Linked DNA regions of Homo sapiens: all the other regions are linked to region 2. Evidence: promoter capture Hi-C in 16 types of primary human blood cells and fetal thymus (Javierre and others, 2016). All regions are on one chromosome and are shown on one strand. The core of a region is centred on a gene start or on the middle of the fragment in contact, and the rest is flanking DNA. Distances in the headings are between cores, read along the strand shown. Region 1 overlaps BDP1 (BDP1 general transcription factor IIIB subunit). Region 2 holds the start of CCNB1 (cyclin B1). Region 3 overlaps MAST4 (microtubule associated serine/threonine kinase family member 4). Region 4 overlaps MCCC2 (methylcrotonyl-CoA carboxylase subunit 2). Region 5 overlaps MAST4 (microtubule associated serine/threonine kinase family member 4). Region 6 overlaps BDP1 (BDP1 general transcription factor IIIB subunit). Region 7 overlaps BDP1 (BDP1 general transcription factor IIIB subunit).

Region 1 (3,084 bases), core at 335-2,834, 2.4 Mb before region 2:
CTCCCGGGTTCAAGCAATTCTCTTATCTCAGCCTCCCAAGTAGCTGGGACTACAGGCACACACCACCGTGCCTGATTAAATTTTGTATTTTGGTAGAGATGGGGTTTTGCCATGTTGGCCAGGCTGGTCTCAAACTCCTCACCTCAGGTGATCTGCCCGCCTTGGCCTCCCAAAGTGCTGGGATTACAGGCGTGAGCCACCGCACCCAGCTGGGAAGAGTACCTTTTTAAACTATCTGAAAGCAGAAAGCTATAAAAGATTGACAAATTAAACAGAAATAAAAAATGTCTGCTTGACAAAAACCACCATAAATAAAATCAAAAGACAAATGACATACAGAGAAAAAAAAAATTGCAATCTTTATCACAAAGGGCCTTTTTCCCTGAATATAATAAGAACACTACAGGCCAGGCACAGTGGCTCATGCCTGTAATTCCAACACTTTGGGAGGCCAAGGCTTGAGGCCAGGCATTTGAGAACAGCATGGCCCACATGGCGAAATCCCGCCTCTACTAAAGATACAAAAATTAGCTGGGTGTTGTGGCATGCATCTGTAAGCTCAGCTAATCGAGAAGCTGAGACAGGAGAATCACTTGAACCCAGGGGATGGAGGTTGCAGTGAACCAAGATCACGCCACTGCACTACAGCCTGGGTGACAGAGTGAGTGAGACTCTGTCTCAAAACAAACACACAAAAAAAACAAAACCCACGACTTTGGCAATGATAAGCTAGACTGATATCTTGATCTCAGAAAATAATTCTAACAAATAATACAAAATGTTTTTAAAAAGTTTAAAGATGTTCTTTACAAAAGTACCCCTTCCAAAGGCTCATGCTGTTCAACAGATGCTCACCAGCCTTCTCTTTGTCAAGATCTTAAGTCACCCCAATATTTTTACAAAGTCTTTGATACAGGTTTACAGAGTTTTCCATCCCAATACTTGCCATTGGACAGCTTCAGGAGACATAGAAATGAAACATGTGAACAAATTCTAGTTTTACAGTTCCTTAAATTCTTGTGGGTGTCAGCACTGCTTCCTTTTGCTTCCACAAGTCAGAAGGGTCTCTAGATTAAAGGAATGGCTATTAAGTGTCCATTTATGGTTAGTTCAATGGCTCTGTACTAATCTAACTGTAACTTCCTGACTCAACACCTTTTCTTCTTCCATTATGGAGGAACACGATGGAGAGAAGGATGGGAGTTGCTCTAAAATAATTTCTGACATCAAATAAAAATAACAAATTACTATGTTTTCCCTAGTTGAATCTCATATCCAACCCATCTCATACAAACTATAAAATACAGTAGTTATCACATACCTGAGTTGCTGAGCTGCTAATATTCTCAGATTGAGTAGTAATAACACTTGGAGATGGAAGCAGATCAGAGGACTCTCGATTTTTTTCCTGGCTTTCATTGAATGGATTAGATCTTTTCAATTTCTTTCTTAATCCAGGTATAAGAGGTTTTAGGCGTTTCTTACTATGGACTTGCATAGGTTCATCAGACTCCAAACTATTCTTTGAGCATATTAAAGATAAAAATCCCAGGGGTCTTCTGCCAGGTCTAGAAATACAAATGTAACGATATTCAAGAATACCCAGGAAGACACATTCTTTTTTTTTTTTTTTTTTTTTTTTTTTTGAGACGCAGTCTCACTCTCACCCAGGCTGGAGTGCAGTGGCGCAATCTCGGCTCACTGCAACCTCCACCTCCCAGGTTCAAGAGATTCTCCTGCTTCAGCCTCCCAAGTAGCTGTAGTAGAGACGGGGTTTCACCATGTTGGTCAGGCTGGTCTCGAACTCCTGACGTCGTCATCTGCCTGCCTCAGCCTCCCAAAGTGCTGGAATTACAGGCGTGAGCCACCGCACCCAGCCAAGACACAACCTTAATACCTGCTTCTGCTTTGGGAGGCTAAGGTGGGAAGACCACTTAAGGCCAGGAGCTCAAAAACAGCCTGGGCAAAATTAGCAGGACCCCGGTCTCTAGAACATCTCTAGCATTCAAATCACTTGGGGATCTTATTAAAATGAAGATTCGCACAGTTGGTAGCGGGCATGGCCTGAGTTCTGCATTTTATCAAGTTCTCAAATGATGTCCATACTGCTGTTGTCAGGACTACACTCTGAGTAGCAAAGCTGTGGAACAGTGGTCAGCACAGTATGCTCTACAGGCCACATGCAGCCCCGCACCCAATTCTGTGAGTATGTTTTACTGGAACACAGCTATGTTCATCTGTTTACATATGGTCTATGGTTGCTTTTGTGCTGTAACTGCAGAGCTGAATAGCTGTTAACAGAGACCACATGGCTTACAAAGCCTAAAATATATACAAATGCCATTTTACAAAAAATGCTGACTTCCGTTCTAGAACACTGCTTCTCAACCTGTTTTAATCCAAACTCTCATGATGTTATTATTTTATTTTAATTTATTTTTTGAGACAGTTTCGCTCTTGTTGCCCAGGCTGGAGTGCAATGGCACAATCTCGGCTCACCGCACCCTCCGCCTCCTGGGTTCAAGCGATTCTCCTGCCTCAGCCTCCTGAGTCACTGGGATTACAGGCATGTGCCAACATGCCCAGCTAATTTTATATTTTTAGTAGAGATGGGGCTTCTCCATGTTGGTTAGGCTGGTCTGGAACTCCCAACCTCAGGTGATCCACCCACCTCAGCCTCCCAAAGTGCTGGGATTACAGGCATGAGCCACCGCACCCAGCCTTTTTTTTTCTTTTTTCAGAGACGGGTCTGGCTATGTTGCCCAGGCTGGAGTGCAGTGGCTATTCACAGGCACAATCATAGCTCACTGCAATCTCAAACTCCGGCCTCAGCCTCCTGAGTAGCTGGGATTATAGGCATGTGCCACTGTACCTGGGCCTCATTCTATTTTCAGCACATATCTAAGGCCAGAAGAGATACCACTGAGCTTTACCTTCTATAATTTAGATAACAAAAACAATAGATCTATTAAATATGTCTTTTAAGCTACATGTGTCCTTTCCCCAACCCCTTCCCCTTAGTGGAGACTAGTGCATGTTCCCCCACCTCTTTCAGTTCAGCAACACCACATTAATCTTCTGGAT
Region 2 (3,024 bases), core at 316-2,815:
CAAAGCCTTTGGCTCAGACAGCTACTACTTAATATCATTAACGAAGGAATATAAGACAGTTGACAATTAAAAGCATAGATTCTGAAGCCAGACAGCCTGAGCTTGAATCCCATATGGGCCACTTACCTGTGTGACCCTGACATAACCTCTCTAAAGCCATGATTTAAATAGTAGAGGTGACAATACCTCAGAGAGTACGTGTAAAGATTATGTGAGTTAATGCATGTAAAATGTTAGGCAGAGCTTGCCTCATGCTAAGCACTCAATAAATGGTATTAATATTACTATTCATTTGAATGCTCTTGCATGTATCAGTGAAATAAGGGACAAGAAATAATCAACAGACTCTACAATGGTAAGAATAAGTTTACCAAAATAGGCTCAGGCGAAAGTTTTTCTTCTTTAACAGGCTCAGGTTCTGGCTCAGGTTCTGGCTCTGGCACTGGCTCAGACACTGGCACTGGCACCAGCATAGGTACCTTTTCAAGAGGTTTTGGTAGTTTTTTATCAATGACTTTTCCAGTAGCTGAAGGTTTTGCTTCCTGTAGATGAAACAGAGAGAATGAAATGTTTCTGCATCAAAGGCCACAGTTGGAAGGCGGGCTCTTACAGAAGTTAGGTCAGGAAGAGAGTTACCTTCTTCATAGGCATTTTGGCCTGCAGTTGTTCACTGACTTTGTTACCAATGTCCCCAAGAGCTGTTCTTGGCCTCAGTCCGGGCTTGGAGGTTGCAGCAGGGGCCGTAGGAACGCGCTTTGCGCCTGCCATGTTGATCTTCGCCTTATTTTCAGCATTAATTTTCGAGTTCTGAAAGAAGCAAGACCACTTTAAGAGCTGATCCACGAAGGCTCGAGTAAGTCAAGGGTTAATTAAGGTGGGGCACAAGGAGAAGTTCCCAGAAAGAAAGCCGACTAAAAATGGGTTCCGAGGGAAAACATGGGTCCCAGAGTCTACTCTGCGGCCGTGACAAGTCAGTTTCCGCCGACCTCTACATTTACCAATTGAGGGATTCCCTGATTAGTCCTGGCCAGCCCTAAAATACCGAGAATTTACATTTGAAAGGAAACCGAAAAAGCCTCCAATTGCAGACACCTTCTCTCTGGGAAGGGGGTTACAGAGTTGCTGGCGGGCCCACTCAGGGACCCTCTATCACTTTTTCAAAAGGTTCCCAGTCGACTCTCCACCTCCCCAAAACATTTATCCAATATCCGTCCAGTTCTCTTTCTCACCTTCCTCCCTCCATCCATCGTCCCCCACACTCTCTCACCAGGCCTGGGCCCACCTCGGCGCTCTCTTGGTGAGTCCCCTCCCACCTTCCTCCCCAAATCGCTCCTGCGGCCCTCTCCCGCTCGGGAGGCTCCCGCAGGCGAGGCAGGGAGAGCAGGCAGCAGCTAAGAAGGCCGCGTTAGTTCGCAGTCCGAAGCGGCTCACCCTGGTGACTCGGAGCGCCATGGCTTCCTCTTCACCAGGCAGCAGCTCAGCGGGGAGAAGCAGAACACCGGAGGCCCGACCAGCCAAGGACCTACACCCAGCAGAAACCAACAGCCGTTCCGCCGCAGCACGCCGAGAAGAGCCAGCCTAGCCTCAGATTTAAACCCCGCACTGCTCCCTCCTTATTGGCCTGTTCGTGGCACTCACTCCCTTCCCATTGGCGGCTGCCGGTCGCAGAGAATGCGTTTCCAGGGCGATCGCGCGAAGGCGTTCGAGAGGGGCGGGGCCACAGTGAGGCTAGGCCGGAAGGCCTGGCCAGGCTCTCACGTGGTCTGCCTCTGCGCCTGCGCTCTCGGGCAGCTGCAGCGGCCACCTGGAGAGCAGTGAAGCCAGTGCGCCGCCCACCTGGAAAGGTTAGCCGGGCAAGAGTGTGCGTTGCCAATGCCAGCTCAGGAAAGGCCTAGTGGCCTTTGGAAGGTGACAGAGGCGCGGCCACAGTCTCAGAAGTGTCAAAAGTAGTTTTGGATCTAGTGTTGCACACTTTCCATTTCTACGGTAGCAGCAATAATATAGTTCATGAAAGGCTTTAATAGACATTCTTTCATTTGATCGTTGCAACAACTCTCTGGGTTGGAGGAACTGAAGCTCAGCGACTTAGATGACTTTGCCAGGGTCACACATTAGCAACGGGGGAACTGAATTTAGGGTTTTTTTTTTTGAGGGGGAGGGAGGGGGTGTATCCGTGTTGTTTTCACAACACTGATTGTCCCTTAACAATATTACTTGATTACTTCAAGATTGTCCAGTTTCCCAAGGCCAATTGTTTTGTTTGTTTTAGCTTTCTATTTGGAAATAATTTCATACTTAGACCAGTTGCCAACAAAAATCTTGTAAGGAATATTTCTATGCCCTTTACTCAGATTCAACTATCCTTAACATGTATTTGCCTCTCATGGGAAAATCAGGAAAAACTAAACAAAAAGACATTTTACCCCATTTGCTTTGTCATTTGCTCAGATTCTCTCTAGATCCAAAGAAAAACAAGAGGGTTCTTTTTGCCTTCTACTCCTCAAAACACACCAGCAGCTCAGCAATTGGAGGGGAGGCTGAAGGACAAAAACATTGCTATCCCATAGAGCAACGGTATAAGAGCCAATAGAGACTCCTGGCGCTGGAAGTCACGGATCCGAAAGAAGGCGCCCAATCATTTGGTTTCTTTGGATCGTTATTGAGTCTTCTGTCATCATAGTTCACCCTCCTACTCGAATGCCTCCCGTGGGGCCCTTACCCTTGCTCTCCTCTGCCTGGAATGCCCGCCTCTTCTTGCATTCAAGCCCCTGGGTTCTATTCAGGTAACTCCCATTCATCCTTCAGTTCTGTGTTCAACATCCATTCTCACTCAGTCTTTCTGGGTTTGATCAATCCTTCCTCGCCCCATGCAGGGGCGAGAGGCAAGGGGCGAAGCAGGATTACTTATCCTCTGTGTTCCAGTTTAAAAATTTTTTTTTTTACTTTTTTTTGAGACGGAGTCTCGATCTGTCGCCCAGGCTGGAGTGCAGTGGTGCGATCTCGACTCACTGCAACCTCCACCTC
Region 3 (3,017 bases), core at 448-2,947, 2.0 Mb after region 2:
AGCCGGGCTGGACAGGTCTTTGGCCGTCAGAGGGGGCGGAGGGATGCTGCTGGGATGCCTTTGTAGAGGCTGCTCCTTCCTTTCAGGTTCCTTGGCACCATCTTTCTGCAAAGATGGGAAACTGGAGAGCTTTTCACTCTTCTCACTCTCAATTCCAGGTGGCTGCAGAGACCGCCTGGCAAGAAGCGCTTCGGGCTTGGGTTCCACGCCACGCCTCACCTTGCCCAGCTCCTTCTCACAGGGAATTCCAGCTGAGTGCAGAGAGGAGTTGTCTCTGGGCGGGGGCCTCGCCTCACCTGGGCCATCTTTGTGGTTCGTTTTCCCACCCGGCGCCCATGCTTTCTCCATGGCCTGGGTCTGTGTATAGAAATCTGGGTGGGTCCTTCCCACAGAGAGGAGATTTTTGGAGTTGTCACTGGTTTTCGCAGTTTCTGGAAAGCACAGTTCCATGGAGGGCTCTCTGCATGTGTCAGCCCTCGCAGCAGAGCGCTCGCTTCTGGCTGTGGGAGGGCCTCTTTCAGACGATTCCCTCAGGCCTGGCTTCTCCCTTGAGGGGGAAGCTTCAGGTGGGAGCGGGCAGCGTGGCCTGGCCAGGTCAGGGCTGTGGAGGTTCTGCCCCAGGCAGGTCAGAAGCTTGGGGTCAGTGGTGTGGTCTTGGTGTTTAGGGGAGCTGCCCTCTCTCTGTTGGGGATTGCTTTCCATGACTGTTCCAGGGCTCCTGGCAGTAGGATGGGGACCTTTCCTGTCCCTCTTGAACTCTGGGTCAGGCAGGGAAACTGCTGGTGAATTCTGGAGACCTCGGCTGGGGGGCAGGAACCAAGGCTCCAGCAGGTAGGATTTATTCATCTTTAAGCTGGAAGGAGAAAGCTCTCTTGCACTGGTGGTATCGTTCTTTTTCCCACTGCTGCTGGGGAGAACTGGTGGCACAGAGGCCCTCACGTCACCACTTGGGCTGGGGCTCTGTGCAGACTCTGGGGAAGGCAGTTCTGTCTTGGAGGCCTGAGGTCCGGACAGGAGAGCAATGTCCAGAGTGCCCTCGATCGGCTTCAGGCATGAGACAGACCTACCTTCCAGCTTATACTCGGAGGGGCTCTTCCTAACAGGGGACTCAGGAGCAACCAAGCCAGGCTTCTCCGTTCCACTGTCCACCCGGCCTGTTAAGGCCTTGAGGGGAACAAAAGAGACGGCACTCATCTGAGCTGCATGGGTGCTGCTGACAAAAGCTCGGCTCTCAGAAGCCGGCGGGGGCTCCTGCTGCCCACCCGTGGGTCGGACTGGGTTCCCTGGCAGGCATTCGTGGGAGCCAGCTGTCATCTTGGGCTTCAGCACAGGGCAGAGGTTGTCCTCTTTGTCCTCAAGTGACATTTTCTTTCGGAGGTAATCGATGTTGGCCAGCTTGCTGTCTAACTTTTCACATCGGAGAAGCTCCTTGGCCTGGGAGGACTTCTCCGTGCCTTCCCCCTTCCCAGAGATGCCCCTGTCGAGGGAGTGGCAGAGACCATCCTGGAGGGTGCCAGGAGCGGGGGCCCGTCTGAAGTCCCCGCCACCCTGGCGGTGCTCCGCAGGCACCCGGCCATCCGACATCGCACCCTCGCTGGCGCGCACGCTGGCCTGCTTGTGAAGAGCATCCTTCAGCAGGCTGCCCAGCGGTGGCGCCTCCTGCATAGACGCTTTGTTTTCAAAAGTACTTGACCTTTCCACAGCCTTCGGATAGACTTTCTTCTCTCTCTCTTCCAGCTTAAACAGAGCAAAGTTTTCCAAATCACTCCCGGGTCCATGGGATTTCTGGTGGGATTCCTGTTTCTCTGGGAAGCCGTCTGCTTTCTTCACCACCACCTTGGCCTTCAGCTTGTCGCGGTCCAGGTCGTCCACAGACTCCTGGCGGCCCACCTTCCGGGAGACTGGGCGTTTCAGGCAGCCTTGCTCCACTGGCCGGGCGCGGCTGAGCGGCGGCACGTCGCACACGTTCTCATCCAGGCTCTGCAGCGGCGCCTCCCGCTGGGACTGCTCCCGCTGCACCTCCTCTTGGGTCACCTCCAGGCTGTGCTTGCGGGAGCACAGGTGCTTCTTGTCACTGCCGTAAGAGGGCGACAGCTTCTCCTCGGACTGCACGCGCTTGAGCAGCGGGGACCTGGGGGGCTCCGCACTCTTGGGCCTCACGATGTGTCTGACGATGGTGGGCGGGGAGTGCATCTTGCTGGGAAAGGCTTGCGCGATCTTGGAATTGCCCAGTGAGTGTCCCAGAAGAGGGGATGGTGACCGCTGCGGGGAGGTGGGTTGCGGGGTTGGAGAGGGCGTCCGGGCCAGCGGGGACAGTGGGATGTTGCCGGCGGACTTTCGCCTTCCGGACCGGTACCGCTGCCCGCCGAGTTTGGGTGCAAGACCGTGGAGAGTGCTGGGCCGGATGTGCCCGGACCCTGCTGGGGAATTGGGGGCACTAGAACTAGGGGAGCTGCTCTGGGAGGAATTAGTACCTGTGGATGGAAAACAGAAGGCTGTGAGCATCCATGGTCATTTTCCCCTTTTTTTCACAGTTGTAGCCCAGACTGTATTAGGTAAGGCCAGGTAAGATCAGCAAATTGTCTCAGCATTTAGCTAGTGGAATAAACACTTTTCAGATAAACCTCTCCAGGCCAAGGTTTAGCCCCATACTTCTTGACTTATTTGTTTGGTCAGAATAGCCACATCTTATGACCTCTCTATAAATCTGTCTTTATAATTTACACCTTCAACCTGCTTTCTTTCAGCTGGAACAAGCTTCATGTTTTTTGGGGACCTCACATGACTTTACCTCCCCTCCCCTCTGCTGTTTAGACCAGGAGACTCACTCACCAGATGGGAAGTCAGGGGTGGAGCGGTAGCTTGGTGTTGGAGACCGGGGAGACAAGCTATGAGTGGGGGAACCTGGGAGGCTCTCACCCGATGACAGGGATCTGTTCAAGCAGGAGAAACTTCGGCTGGTGTGGAGTAAAGGAGAAGGCTGCTTGGCTAGCTTTTTGAAAAGAGATCTCCTCCTA
Region 4 (2,751 bases), core at 23-2,522, 2.4 Mb before region 2:
AGTATGAATTCCATAGCTGCGTACAGGGGCACAGGTACAGTCTCAGCTACTTGGGAGGCTGAGGCAAGAAGATCACTTGAGCTCCCGACTTCGAGTCCAGCCCGAGCAACAGAGTGAGGAGACCCTGTCTCTAAATAAACTAGTAAATAAGCAATTCTAGACCATACTTTCCAAATCCAGTCTTCTTCACTATTTTTATACTCCTGAGATCCAGTATTTAAACTACTCTAACCTAAATGTAAAATTTTACATTAAAAGTATTATATACAATTTTAAGTATTATATACTTGTTGATAAAAGTTATCTGAAACAGTCTATCAAATATGAAGAATGCTTTCCATCTGAGATTCAGCACTTAGGGAGGAAATATTAAATGCCTACTAAGAAATCACTGGCCAGGTGTGGTGGCTCATACCTGTAATCCCAGCACTTTGGGAGGCCAAGATGAGAGGATCGCTTGAGCCAGGGGTTCAGTCCAGCCTGGCAATAGAGCAAGAACCCATCTCTTAAAAAAAAAATTAATAAAAATTAAAAATAAATTATTTATTCATAAAATTTATGAATTTGAATCTTTACTTTTCCCCCCAAAAGTGGTAGTACTCTATGAAGAGAAAAACTGGCCAAGTAATAGGAAAAATAAAATTAAATGCCTGCATACCAACAAATGCATAGTCTTAAGAGTCAAAAGCTCAGCCAGGAGTAGTGGCTCACGCCTATAATTGCAGCACTTTGGGAGGCCAAGGCAGATGGATCACTTGACATCAGTAGTTCAAGACCAGCCTGGCCAACATGGTGAAACCTTGTCTCTATTTAAAAAATACAAAAATTAGACAGGCATGGAGGCAGGCACCTGTAATCCCAACAACTTGGGAGGCTGAGGCAGGAGAATGGCTTGAACCCAGGAGGCGGAGGTTGCAGTGAGCTGAGATGGCGCCACTGCACTCCAGCCTGGGCAAGAGAGCAAGACTCCATCTCAAAAAAAAAAAAAAAATATCAAAAGCTTAATTCCAGTATTTTTCCTAAAAGCAATAACTATTTTAGGACATCTTAAGTAAAGGCATAAGCTGTGGAATAAATGCTGTGTTTACCTAGTTTTATATGCTCCACTCGTTCATGGAGCTGATTTACTAGTGCTTTCATCTGCTTGTAGTTCTCCTAAAACAGAAATAGAGGAGACAGGGGAGAGAAATATTAGAAAGCAATTCCTTTTTACCAAAATAAAGGTCAAAAAAAAAAAAAAAACAGTGGTCTGTGCCAACTCTGTGTGGCCGCCACACTGGGCCACCCCATCTGTGGCAGCCACGCTGGGCCACTGGATCGTATGGAAAAGATTCACCCCTGCCTGTCTTGTTCAAGCTCTTCTTCACCACCCCACTTGTCCATCTCTCCATATCTTACTCCTCTGTAAGCCTAATTCATGTTTTATCTCATCTTCAACTCTACTTCTGGCCACTCCTACTCAATTTAACATCTTTCTTCCTTAAACACCTTCTGAACTTAAACTGATCTCTATTTGTTTTCCTATTTTAAGGAATATAAGCTTTTTGAAGGTTAGAATACCATCTTATTTTTCCTGTCCCATCAGTCACTATCTGAGATTCCAACCAATGCTTGCTTACTGACAAAGTACACTTAAAAACAAATCCCAGAGGGAGAAAAAGGATCTTATTTTTATTTTTAATTTTGTATTTTTATTTTTTGGGACAGAGTCTCCCTTTGTTGCCCCGGCTGGAGTGCAATGGTGCAATCTCGGCTCACTGCAACCTCCGCCTCCCGAGATCAAGCGATTCTCCTGCCTCAGCCTCCTAAGTAGCTGGGACTACAGGTGTGTGCCACCATGCCCAGCTAATTATTGTATTTTTAATAGAGACCGGGTTTCGCCATGTTGGCCAGGCTGATCTCAAACTCCTTACCTCAAGTGATTTGCCCATCTCGGCCTCCCAAAGTGCTGGGATTACAGGCATGAGCCACCGCACCTGGCCAAGGATCCTATTTTATGTTTTAAAAAGAACAGGCTGAGTGTGGTGGCTTATGTCTGTTATCCCAGAGCTTTGGAAGGCGGAGGCAGGAGCATCGCTTAAGCCCAGGAGTTTGAGACCAGCCTGAGTAACATAGGGAGACTTCCATCTTTACAAAAAGAATAAAAATAAAAAGAATAAAAATTTAAAAATTATCTGGGCATGGTGGTGTGTCCCAGCGACTTGACCAACTAAGGTGGAAGGATCTCTTGAGCCCAGGAGTTTGAAGCTGCAGTGAACTAGGATCGTGCCATTGTACTCCAGCCTGGGTGACAGAGCAAGACTGTTTCAAATAAATAAATAAATTAGTAAAAAGAACAAAACTCGGCCAGCCGTGGTGGCTCACGCCTGTAATCTCAGCACTTTGGGAGGCCGAGGCGGGCAGATCACCTACGGTCGGGAGTTCGAGACCAGCCTGACCAACATGGAGAAAACTCGTCTCTACTAAAAAATACAAAATTAGCCAGGCAAGGTGGTGCTTGCCTGTAATCCCAGCTACTCGGGAGGCTGAGGCAGGAGAATCCCTCGAACCCGGGAGGCGGAGGTTGCAGTGAGCCAAGATTGCATCATTGCACTCCAGCCTGGGCAACAAGAGCAAAACTCCATCTCAAAAAAAAAAAAAAAAAAACAGAACAAAACTCTATGCTGGCATATATACACAAATTAAGTAATACACAAGGAAATATTGACAGTGAGAAGTAGAAAAGAGGTAGAGGGACTAACTTTTCACCCT
Region 5 (2,910 bases), core at 240-2,739, 2.2 Mb after region 2:
ATAGCCCCTCCAAGTATTTGTAAATGTAATTAACTTCCCATGTTTCAGAGGTTAATCGTCCAGCTCTTGGTTTCTCTGTCTTTTGGCCGAATTTATAATCACTTGACTCCTCTTTAGTGCTCCTCTTTAGGCAGCCAAAGAAAAGGAACTGAAAGTGGAGATATATAGCCTTCGGGACTCGGAACTACTCCCTCCCAGTCCAATCCCTAAGATAATCTTAAGAAATTCAGTCTAGGACTAGACGGCAAAAACAAAACAGAGCAAAGCACAAACAATTACTTTTGTCTAATAGCCTTAACATATACTTAAGATAAATACACACCTGAGACTTCCCAACAAAATCCATAAATGTTGGGCCATGAATCCCCTCCAAACATGTTAGTTTCTCTATTAAAAAGCTTTGAAATCAAACCTGTTAAGTGGCTGAAGGAACAGCTACAAGCCACTGCCTGCTGGACACACCTATAAGAATGGAAGGTTTGAAAAGCAGGGGTTGTTTCTTCAGCTCCAGGCTGGGCATGCCACTTACATGGGAACTAAAGAACTGGCTTAAAACGAGGACTATAATCTTTCTGGAACAATAGGTCATGACGAGCTTCCTTAATGCCAAAATAAGTGTTTAGAAGTAACTTCTGCTAACTGAAAAAAAGTATAAAGGGCATATATATTTACTCTGGCTGGAATACAACATTTCTGAATATGTTTATCAGTGCCAAGAGTCAGAACCCTTTTCCCTCATGGATTTCCAACCTGGGACCCATTCCATGGAATGTCTCTATATCCGAGAAATGGCATAAAGAAGTTGTATCATATTAATAGCTAACCAGTTCAGTATCTGTTCTCTTTGACCTCTAAATCACCCTAGATCTGATGTGAGAAGGTAGACTAATTGTAAGGTTAAATCTCAAAAGGTAAGAAAAACCACAATTGCTCTTGATTAAAGAGCTTCCTCTACAAGAAGCCATCAAATAATACATAATCACAATGTTATAGAAAAATGAAGTCTACCTGCTAAAATGGCATTTTGGCCATGGCTATGCTGGTAAAATAGCATTAAAAGCAGTAAGATCCAAGAACTGGACTGAAGAGAGCAGGTCTCTGATCTTAAGCCTGGATTCCAATGTTAAGAAAGTCACTATTGATTTTTCACTTTAAAAATCCTTGATTTCAAAGGCTAACCTGCCTGAACTTCACAGGAGAGAAGGCATCTATTGAGAAAGAATGCTACAAATAAGTTTTACAGGCCACACAGTAAAAATACGGCAACTTTTATTCCACGGTTCAAATACGTAACCCCAGACATCAAATCCTAAAACATATAGGAAATTATGATTCATACGCTTAGAGGCTTATTTTGCAGAATCCATAACAAGAACTATTACCTAAAGCACCCAAATTATCCCACATCTGTTTAGCTCCACTGGTCACTAAGGCCATTTGACATCAAAGATGAGAAATCCTTCTGCTTAGGGACCTACTATGGAAATGCGAACTTAAAATCATCCATTCAACTTGCCAAGGCAACTGATGTGCCTATCAATTGTTTTGCCACATGCCTGCCCTTTGCAGTGGTTGAGCAAGCCTAGGTTAATTTTACAATAAACCAGTTTTTGGGTTAGCAAATTACTTGTGTTTATCTGGAAGGGTACTAGGATAGGGAATAGTTAAGTAGATAAAATCAGTCCTTACATGGAAAAAAAAAAAATCTGACATAGCTTCAGTAGCTCCAGTACTTAGTTCCTGATCTAGGTAATCTATTTGGAAAAGTCTTTGATTTTTGTATCAAAAGTCTTGAGATTAGCCAAGTGAAAGTAATATTTTTACAGGAATTATATCTCAAGTTCCAAGATCAACAAGCCACTCAAATCAGACATAAGAAATAACATTACATAATAGCCACTTAATGCCTATTGTTTTACAGTAACAAAGGCTTCATTTACCATATTTCCTCGAGTGCTTTATTCAGCTGGCAGTTTTTCCCATGCCAAACATAATTTTTTCCCTCAACCCCTTCATACATCTATAAAAGTAAAACATTTTATACTTATACTTTTTAAATTATTATAATTCCCAATTTAAATATATCCATCCTATTGCATTTTAGAAAACATTAATGTGAAAGGGGCATAAGTGATTTTTATGTAAGCTATGGATCCAGTGATTTTCTACAGATTTCATAGCTGAGAAATTTGTCAATGACTACATAATATTCCAATAACGACTCTTAAGGAAGAAACCCAGTAAAGCGTGAGACATAAACATACACTGTAACATTTAAAATTAGATAGAATAAAGCATACTTCTTTACAGCTTTTATTTTGTTTGATAGCTTCAACAAATACTCATGTGGCAAAATGGGCCTGGTAAATCCATCAGCTTTCTTCCCCTTCTAATTCTATGACCCTAAGAGACCTCAGCAAATTTCACATTTTCAGTTTCTCATTCCCTCCACCTAGGTTTTTCACTCAGAACCCAATATACTACCTCTAAAAGATACTGCCACTTGAACTTCCATGTCAGGTTAGAAACTTTCCAGGGGCACAAGGTGCTGGTACTTACTTTGAACAGCTAAAAGCTTATTCAAGAACTTCAGAATAAAAATGGTGGTTGGCCTACCAGATGTCAAGATCTGCATTTTGCTTGTACTACTGCCTGCAATTACAGTTTGCTAAGAGCCCCCAAACTCTGACAAAATCAGTCACTGATAAATGTAGGACCACAAAGCAGAATGTAAAAATTCCCAGGATTCTATAATAAAGTAAGCAATGGGGTGCTTCAGATAAGAGATATACAGTAATGACTGCCTATTCTTCTTACCAATCTATTTTACCTTCAAGTACTGATCAAAGCCTAAATTCTCTGCTATGGTCTTTTTTCTTTAAAATAAAACCATGATATGTCAGTTGTGAT
Region 6 (2,845 bases), core at 34-2,533, 2.3 Mb before region 2:
AGATTTTTACTGAGCTTCTTGATTCTCATTACCAATAGCATGAATCAGCAATGGAAGCTGGATTTACAGAGGACAGAAAAAAATAAAGTCAACAAACATGAAAGCAGATCAAACCTATGACTAAGCTCACTGGTATTAACTTTTAAAAAATTAAGTATTCGTAACAGGTTAAACCTCTGACATCATTGTTCTAATATATTTCAAGTAGCATGGAGAGAAGACTATAGAGAAACAACTAAGTGAAATTTTGAAGCAGGCCAAGTTTATCCTGACAAACTTCTATATATTAAGGCACATTTCCTCACATTTTTCTCAGCCCCAAAAATCCCTGTCCTCAGTTTACTACCAGATTACTTCCATTAAGAGGGAGATGTTTAAGGCTTAAGGCTCAATCCATCCTAAAGTCATTAGGAAGACTGAGGGCATAAGTTTGTGTCTGAAGACGTCTGATCACGCAAACACATCGTAGGAGAGGAAACAAACAGCCAATGTTTCCCATCTACACGTCAGTGATCTACAAGTTTTTATTAAAAGCACAAAAATAAAGCTTTTTAATTGCAAAAAAGAGAGAGAGAATATCACATAAAACAAAGGAAGTACTTCATGCCCCCTTCCTCCCTTCAAAAGAACTTAACCACTAATATGACTTGTAAAGCAATCACTTTCTTGTATTTCCTTATTGTTTATGACCCAAGTGTGTATTCTTAGATGATACAGTTTAGCCTTGCCCATATTTTTAAAACCTGATATGACATTAACATCTTTTAATGTACAGGTTGCCCTTCTTTCCCATTCTTTTGTTTTTCTTCACAAAACTTATTATCAATACAGAAGTTTTCAAAGATAATCTTATTTCTGCCTTAAAAGATCATACTGTTATTTAAACATTTCCTCAAAAGTTAACAAATGTTACCTCCACAAAAAATGATTGGCTATAAACACTAAATTAAATGTCCTAAAAGAAATATCAATAGGCTTCAGGCATTTAATTCTAAAACAGTGCTACCTCATATTTTACTTAATTGGTAATATAATTCAGAACAATTTAAAACTTTCTCAAAGAAATATATTGAAACTAGTCAATGATTTCATAGGTAAGAACCAGTAACAGGCCAAATTCCATGATCACAAAATAAATCCCATAATTTCCACTTCTGGCCTTGGCAAAGTAACTCATTATGGACAGGTCCTACATATCCAACTCCACCACGAATGACTTTTAACACTGACAAAATATATGCATCAATTATTTTCAAGCAAAGGACAATAGTGAGAGCAAGACTACAATCACGGAGAGAAGGAAAACAGACAAGATGTGCCCATGTTTACCTTGGCTCTCTGCCTGGGCTCAATTTCCTAACCAAGGAAAGGGAGGTGAAGGCCAAACAGGGTACAGCAATCCAACTAGGCTGCAGAGGTAGGGAATCTTTAGGAGCATAGTTCTAAAAAGGAACTGTGTAGAGGGGTACCTCACAGGCCTGGTGGAAATACCCCATGATACCTTGGCCTAAGTATGGGTTGCATATGTCCAGAATATAAGGCTTAAAAGAGAACAGCTGCTAAAGCCATGAAGGCAGAAGGAAGATGCTAAAAGTCATAAAACACCATATGACAATAGAGTTCAGGTGCATCCTAATGGAAAGACCTCATTAATACCCAAATACATTCACCTCAGACACCAGAAAGATCACCATTAGAGATAAAAACGATACCCTAGAGTAGCCTTTCTCTACCAGGGATGTAGCATGAGAATTAAGTACTAATGCATTAAAGCAGCCACTGTATGCAATGCATTCCCTTCTCTCACTTATCTATTAATAGTATAGTATTAGTATAACCATCCTTAGAGAACTTAGAAAATAATAACTCATGCCTACCATGAGACTGTTCTGGGAAAAGAAGAAAATAATAAAATATAATAGTAATTCAAATTATTTTCTGTAAATCAGATGAGAAATCCCATTGGAGAAAGGATGTCCTAGATTAAAGACCAGTCTAGATCTGCCTCAACAAAGCTTTAAGACAAGCCTTAACAGGAACAAAGAAGTTGGCAGTACATTAACAGTTTTCCAGAACAAAAGTCAACACTATTTTTTATTCTGTTTTGTTTATTGAAACAGAGTCTTGATGTCTTCCAGACTGGAATGCAGTGCTGTGATCACAGCTCACTGCAGCCTTGATCTCCCAGGCTCAAGCAATCCTCCTGCCTCAGCCTCCTGAATTGCTAGGGGACGTGTGCCACCAAGCCTGGCTTTTTTTTTTTTTTTTTTTTTTTTCTTTGTAGAGATGGGATCTTGCCATGTTGCTCAGTCTGGGTTTGAACTTCTGGGCTCAAGCAATCCTCCCGTCTCAGCCTCCCAAAATACTAGGATTAGAGGTGTGAACCACCGCGCCTGGCCCACTGCGCTTTAAAAAAAAAAAGAAAAAACATAATCCAGACACTCTACAACACATCATTCACAATGTCTGGTATGTGATTTCATTTTTTTTTTTTGAGACGGAATCTTGCTCTGTCTCACAGGCTGGAGCGCAGTGGCGCGATCTCAGCTCACTGCAACCTCTGCATCCCGGGTTCATGCCATTCTCCTGCCTCAGCCTCCCAAGTAGCTGGGACTACAGGCGCACGCCACCACGCCTGGCTAATTTTTCACATTTTTAGTAGAGACAGGGTTTCTGTGTTAGCCAGGATGGTCTTTATCTCCTGACCTCGTGATCCACCCGCCTTGGCCTCCCAAAGTGTTGGGACTACAGGCATGAGCCACTACGCCTGGCCTAGTATGCAATTTCAAAAAAACTCACGGTTGGCCGGGCATGGTGGTTCACTTCTTATAATCCTAGCACTGTG
Region 7 (2,897 bases), core at 1-2,500, 2.4 Mb before region 2:
AGGAATTATACATACTCCTACTGAAGAAAAAAAAAAAAAACAAAATTAAAATGGACCAAATTATAGATGCTCAAAATAAATTCCTCAACATTTAGTAATTGTAAAATTCTGTATTATTAAAGTTTGCTTCATTTGTGTGGCAGCAATAGAAAAAGATTTTAGAAATAAATAAATTTTGCCCTTGTTGGCTGTAAATTTATGATCTCCCTATTTCATGCCAGGGATTTGACCTGTTGTGAGCTTAATAATCCTTACAGACTGGAATTTTATCCGATTATTAGTAAAAATGAGTTCTTTTGTTACTTTCAGTAATTATATAATCTCAGATGGATTTCAAGACAGCACTGTCAGCATTTAAGATTTTTAAAACCTTTATGTTCTATATGTACTTTATGTTCTATATGTTTTTGACAGGCTGTACTGCAATACTCTGCCACTAAGAAAGGAGCCCTATACAGAACACAAATCAGAGACTTTCCTGATAAATACATGGTTCCAAGCCTAAAAGTCTAATATGTCTTTATTTATCTATTTTTGAGACAGTGTCTCACTTTGTCACCCAGGCTGGAGTGCAGTGGTGCGATCTCAGCTCACTGCAGCCTTGACCTCCTGAGCTCAAGCGATCCTCCCACCTCAGCTTCCCAAGCAGCTAGGACTACAAGTGTACACCACCATGCCTGCCTAATTTTTTGTATTTTTTGTAGAGACGGGGTTCCACCATGTTGCCCAGGCTGGTCTTGAACTCCTGAAGTCAAGCATTCACCAGCCTCAGCCTCCCAAAGTGCTGGTATTATTGGCATGAGCTGCTGCATCTGGCCCAAAAGTCTAATACTTAAAATGAATGGAAGCTGGGTGCGGTGGCTCATGCCTGTAATCCCAGCACTTTGGGAGGCCAAGACGGGTGGATCACCTGAGGTCAGCAGTTCGAGACCAGCCTGGCCAAGATGGTGAAACCCCAACTCTACTAAAAATACAAAAATTAGCTGGGCATGGTGGCATGCGATTGTAATCCCAACTACTTGAGAGGCTAAGGCAGGAGAATTGCTTGAGCCTGGGAGGCAGAGGTTGCAGTGAGCCAAGATCGCACCATTGCACTCCAGCCTGGGTGACAAGAGCGAAACTCTGCTTCAAATAAATAAATAAGATGAATGGTAGGCTACTCATAACCAAACTCCGTCTCAAATAAATAAATAAGTAAATAAAATGAATGGTAACCAGGCAAAATAATTACCAGGAATAGTATAATTATTCATTTCATGCAATTAAAAGATATTGAGATAGTAAAGATTTATCACTTGTCTGTGATTTCCATCTAATAAGTTAAAAATCTTGGTTGATATATCTTTTGGCTCTGTCCAAACTGAGAACAGTTTAAACTAAATTATTTCAATGAGTGCTATTGTCTCTTTGTGCTCTATTTGTCATCTAATTGTGAATACCATCCCAAGCAGCAACTCCTTTGCAAAAGACACATGTATAAACTATATCAGTGATCAATGAGCTCAGTTAACCAATGACATTTATGATGGTAAAGGTAGTATTCACTACCTTTACCATGCATACAACTATTCCATGCATACAACTATTCCATGAATACAAATTATTCTTAATAAACCAAGAGCATGATCTTGAATTAGCTGTCACTACACCTAAACAGTAGTAAAATAGTGGATGGATCAATACATACATATCATATTTTATGGAAGAACAACAAAATGGAGACAACTTCAAAGGTAAAAGGGTTATTACTCAAATGTGGGTATAATTTCTTAAGTTAGGTTTTAAAAGTTTCTATTTTTGATAGGACTTAGCTTTCATTCTTACCATCACCCTGTTCACTACTGATCTCTGACTGCAATACTAGATCTCCCATTGTAAGTAAAGTTATTGCAGCTTCGGTGCTTCCATCATTGGTACCTTGTGAGGAAATATATCAACATTAAAAAAAAGAATGAATCCGGAAATCTGTTCACTTAAAAAAGATTTTTAATTAAGGTGTTTATCTCCTAGGAGCAGATTCCAATATCCTCTGAGCCATTAATCCCTTACTAAGGTAGTCTTTTGTTCAGGTTATATGCTACAAATAAATAAATCATCACTGTTGGTTTTGACTCACTGACCATGCCTCCCTCCCATTAAATAATATCTTCAAGGAAAATGCTCTCCCATTTGTGAAGATCCAGAGGAAATGCTCAAATACTTCTTAAACATTTTTTTAATTCACCTTCTAAAATAACATTCCAAGAATCCACATTTCTCACAGAGACAACACATTCAATAGCTGAATCTTTTTGTTAAACTCTCCAGCAAACTGATTCATTTATTATCCCCACTATTAAATCACTGTACTAGTGTTAATCAAGGTAGTCTTAGCAGTTTCCTTGATAACAGTTACCTGGTTCATCTTGGATATGTTCACTTGTGGTCATTTCCTAAAAAGGAAAAAAATAAGTAACATCTTAAAATACTTCCCCAAACATGTTCTGTTTCTCAGCATGCACTACATTTTCAGAGGTCTTTCCATACTTTTAGCTACAATAGTGTAAACTGGTTTGTCTTAATTTATAATTATTCACAAAATTTCACCAGCAAGAACATAAACAATTTAAAGGCAAAATTCTTGTGTCTCTTGCTCCTGACTTTATCTTTTTCTTGTATTATGTGCAAATTTTAACTCTTATCATTTTGTTATGTACGTCTACCATTCTTACTTTACTTCTTCATTTTCATAATCCTTCAACTCTAGTCATATCTGCTGCCAATTTTTACCCAATGGAAACCAAGGCCTAAAGGGTATTGCAAAATTTTTATACTACTACGTAGCTTAAAACTTAAATGCATTTTAATAAATTAAGAAGTTACAGAACCAATGTCCAGAGCGACAGCTTGAGAAGCTT

What was found. The method cuts DNA at HindIII sites, captures the fragments that hold promoters and counts their contacts. A CHiCAGO score of 5 or more calls a contact.
Region 1: a fragment that was not itself captured here is called in contact with the fragment with the promoter of CCNB1 in region 2 in 1 of 17 cell types (total CD8 T cells); the score reaches 5.7 in total CD8 T cells.
Region 3: a contact is called between a fragment that was not itself captured here and the fragment with the promoter of CCNB1 in region 2, in 1 of 17 cell types (fetal thymus). The highest score is 6.6, in fetal thymus.
Region 4: a contact is called between a fragment that was not itself captured here and the fragment with the promoter of CCNB1 in region 2, in 8 of 17 cell types (total B cells, naive CD8 T cells, monocytes and 5 more). The highest score is 16.1, in total B cells.
Region 5: a fragment that was not itself captured here is called in contact with the fragment with the promoter of CCNB1 in region 2 in 1 of 17 cell types (activated CD4 T cells); the score reaches 6.8 in activated CD4 T cells.
Region 6: a contact is called between a fragment that was not itself captured here and the fragment with the promoter of CCNB1 in region 2, in 11 of 17 cell types (total CD4 T cells, monocytes, naive CD4 T cells and 8 more). The highest score is 12.3, in total CD4 T cells.
Region 7: a fragment that was not itself captured here is called in contact with the fragment with the promoter of CCNB1 in region 2 in 3 of 17 cell types (activated CD4 T cells, monocytes and non-activated CD4 T cells); the score reaches 7.0 in activated CD4 T cells.

The regions. Positions count from the first base shown.
Region 1 is chr5:71,560,758-71,563,841 of GRCh38, reverse strand. It overlaps BDP1 (BDP1 general transcription factor IIIB subunit), which reads right to left. Exons shown (of 39, transcript NM_018429.3): 38 at 1,322-1,568. Among named protein-coding and RNA genes, the nearest start is that of MCCC2, 25 kb to the left of the region's middle. The HindIII fragment of the contact is 5,540 bases long and covers 1-3,084 here.
Region 2 is chr5:69,165,691-69,168,714 of GRCh38, reverse strand. It overlaps CCNB1 (cyclin B1), which reads right to left and starts at 1,565. Exons shown (of 9, transcript NM_031966.4): 1 at 1,432-1,565; 2 at 637-807; 3 at 372-542. The coding sequence starts at 1,452. RefSeq lists enhancers at 1,310-1,539, 920-1,885. The HindIII fragment of the contact is 10,262 bases long and covers 1-3,024 here.
Region 3 is chr5:67,162,604-67,165,620 of GRCh38, reverse strand. MAST4 (microtubule associated serine/threonine kinase family member 4) reads right to left here. Exons shown (of 29, transcript NM_001164664.2): 28 at 2,833-3,014; 29 at 1-2,474. Among named protein-coding and RNA genes, the nearest start is that of CD180, 33 kb to the left of the region's middle. The HindIII fragment of the contact is 2,124 bases long and covers 636-2,759 here.
Region 4 is chr5:71,591,330-71,594,080 of GRCh38, reverse strand. It overlaps MCCC2 (methylcrotonyl-CoA carboxylase subunit 2), which reads right to left. Exons shown (of 17, transcript NM_022132.5): 2 at 1,089-1,155. Among named protein-coding and RNA genes, the nearest start is that of MCCC2, 5.4 kb to the right of the region's middle. The HindIII fragment of the contact is 540 bases long and covers 1,003-1,542 here.
Region 5 is chr5:67,012,891-67,015,800 of GRCh38, reverse strand. All of the region lies in intron 4 of MAST4 (microtubule associated serine/threonine kinase family member 4), which reads right to left. Among named protein-coding and RNA genes, the nearest start is that of MAST4-AS1, 10 kb to the right of the region's middle. RefSeq lists a silencer at 486-780. The HindIII fragment of the contact is 2,177 bases long and covers 401-2,577 here.
Region 6 is chr5:71,480,823-71,483,667 of GRCh38, reverse strand. The region is part of intron 7 of BDP1 (BDP1 general transcription factor IIIB subunit); the gene reads right to left. Among named protein-coding and RNA genes, the nearest start is that of BDP1, 27 kb to the right of the region's middle. RefSeq lists an enhancer at 1-266. The HindIII fragment of the contact is 1,468 bases long and covers 550-2,017 here.
Region 7 is chr5:71,538,577-71,541,473 of GRCh38, reverse strand. BDP1 (BDP1 general transcription factor IIIB subunit) reads right to left here. Exons shown (of 39, transcript NM_018429.3): 27 at 2,396-2,432; 28 at 1,825-1,917; 29 at 1-20. Among named protein-coding and RNA genes, the nearest start is that of MCCC2, 47 kb to the left of the region's middle. The HindIII fragment of the contact is 3,292 bases long and covers 1-2,896 here.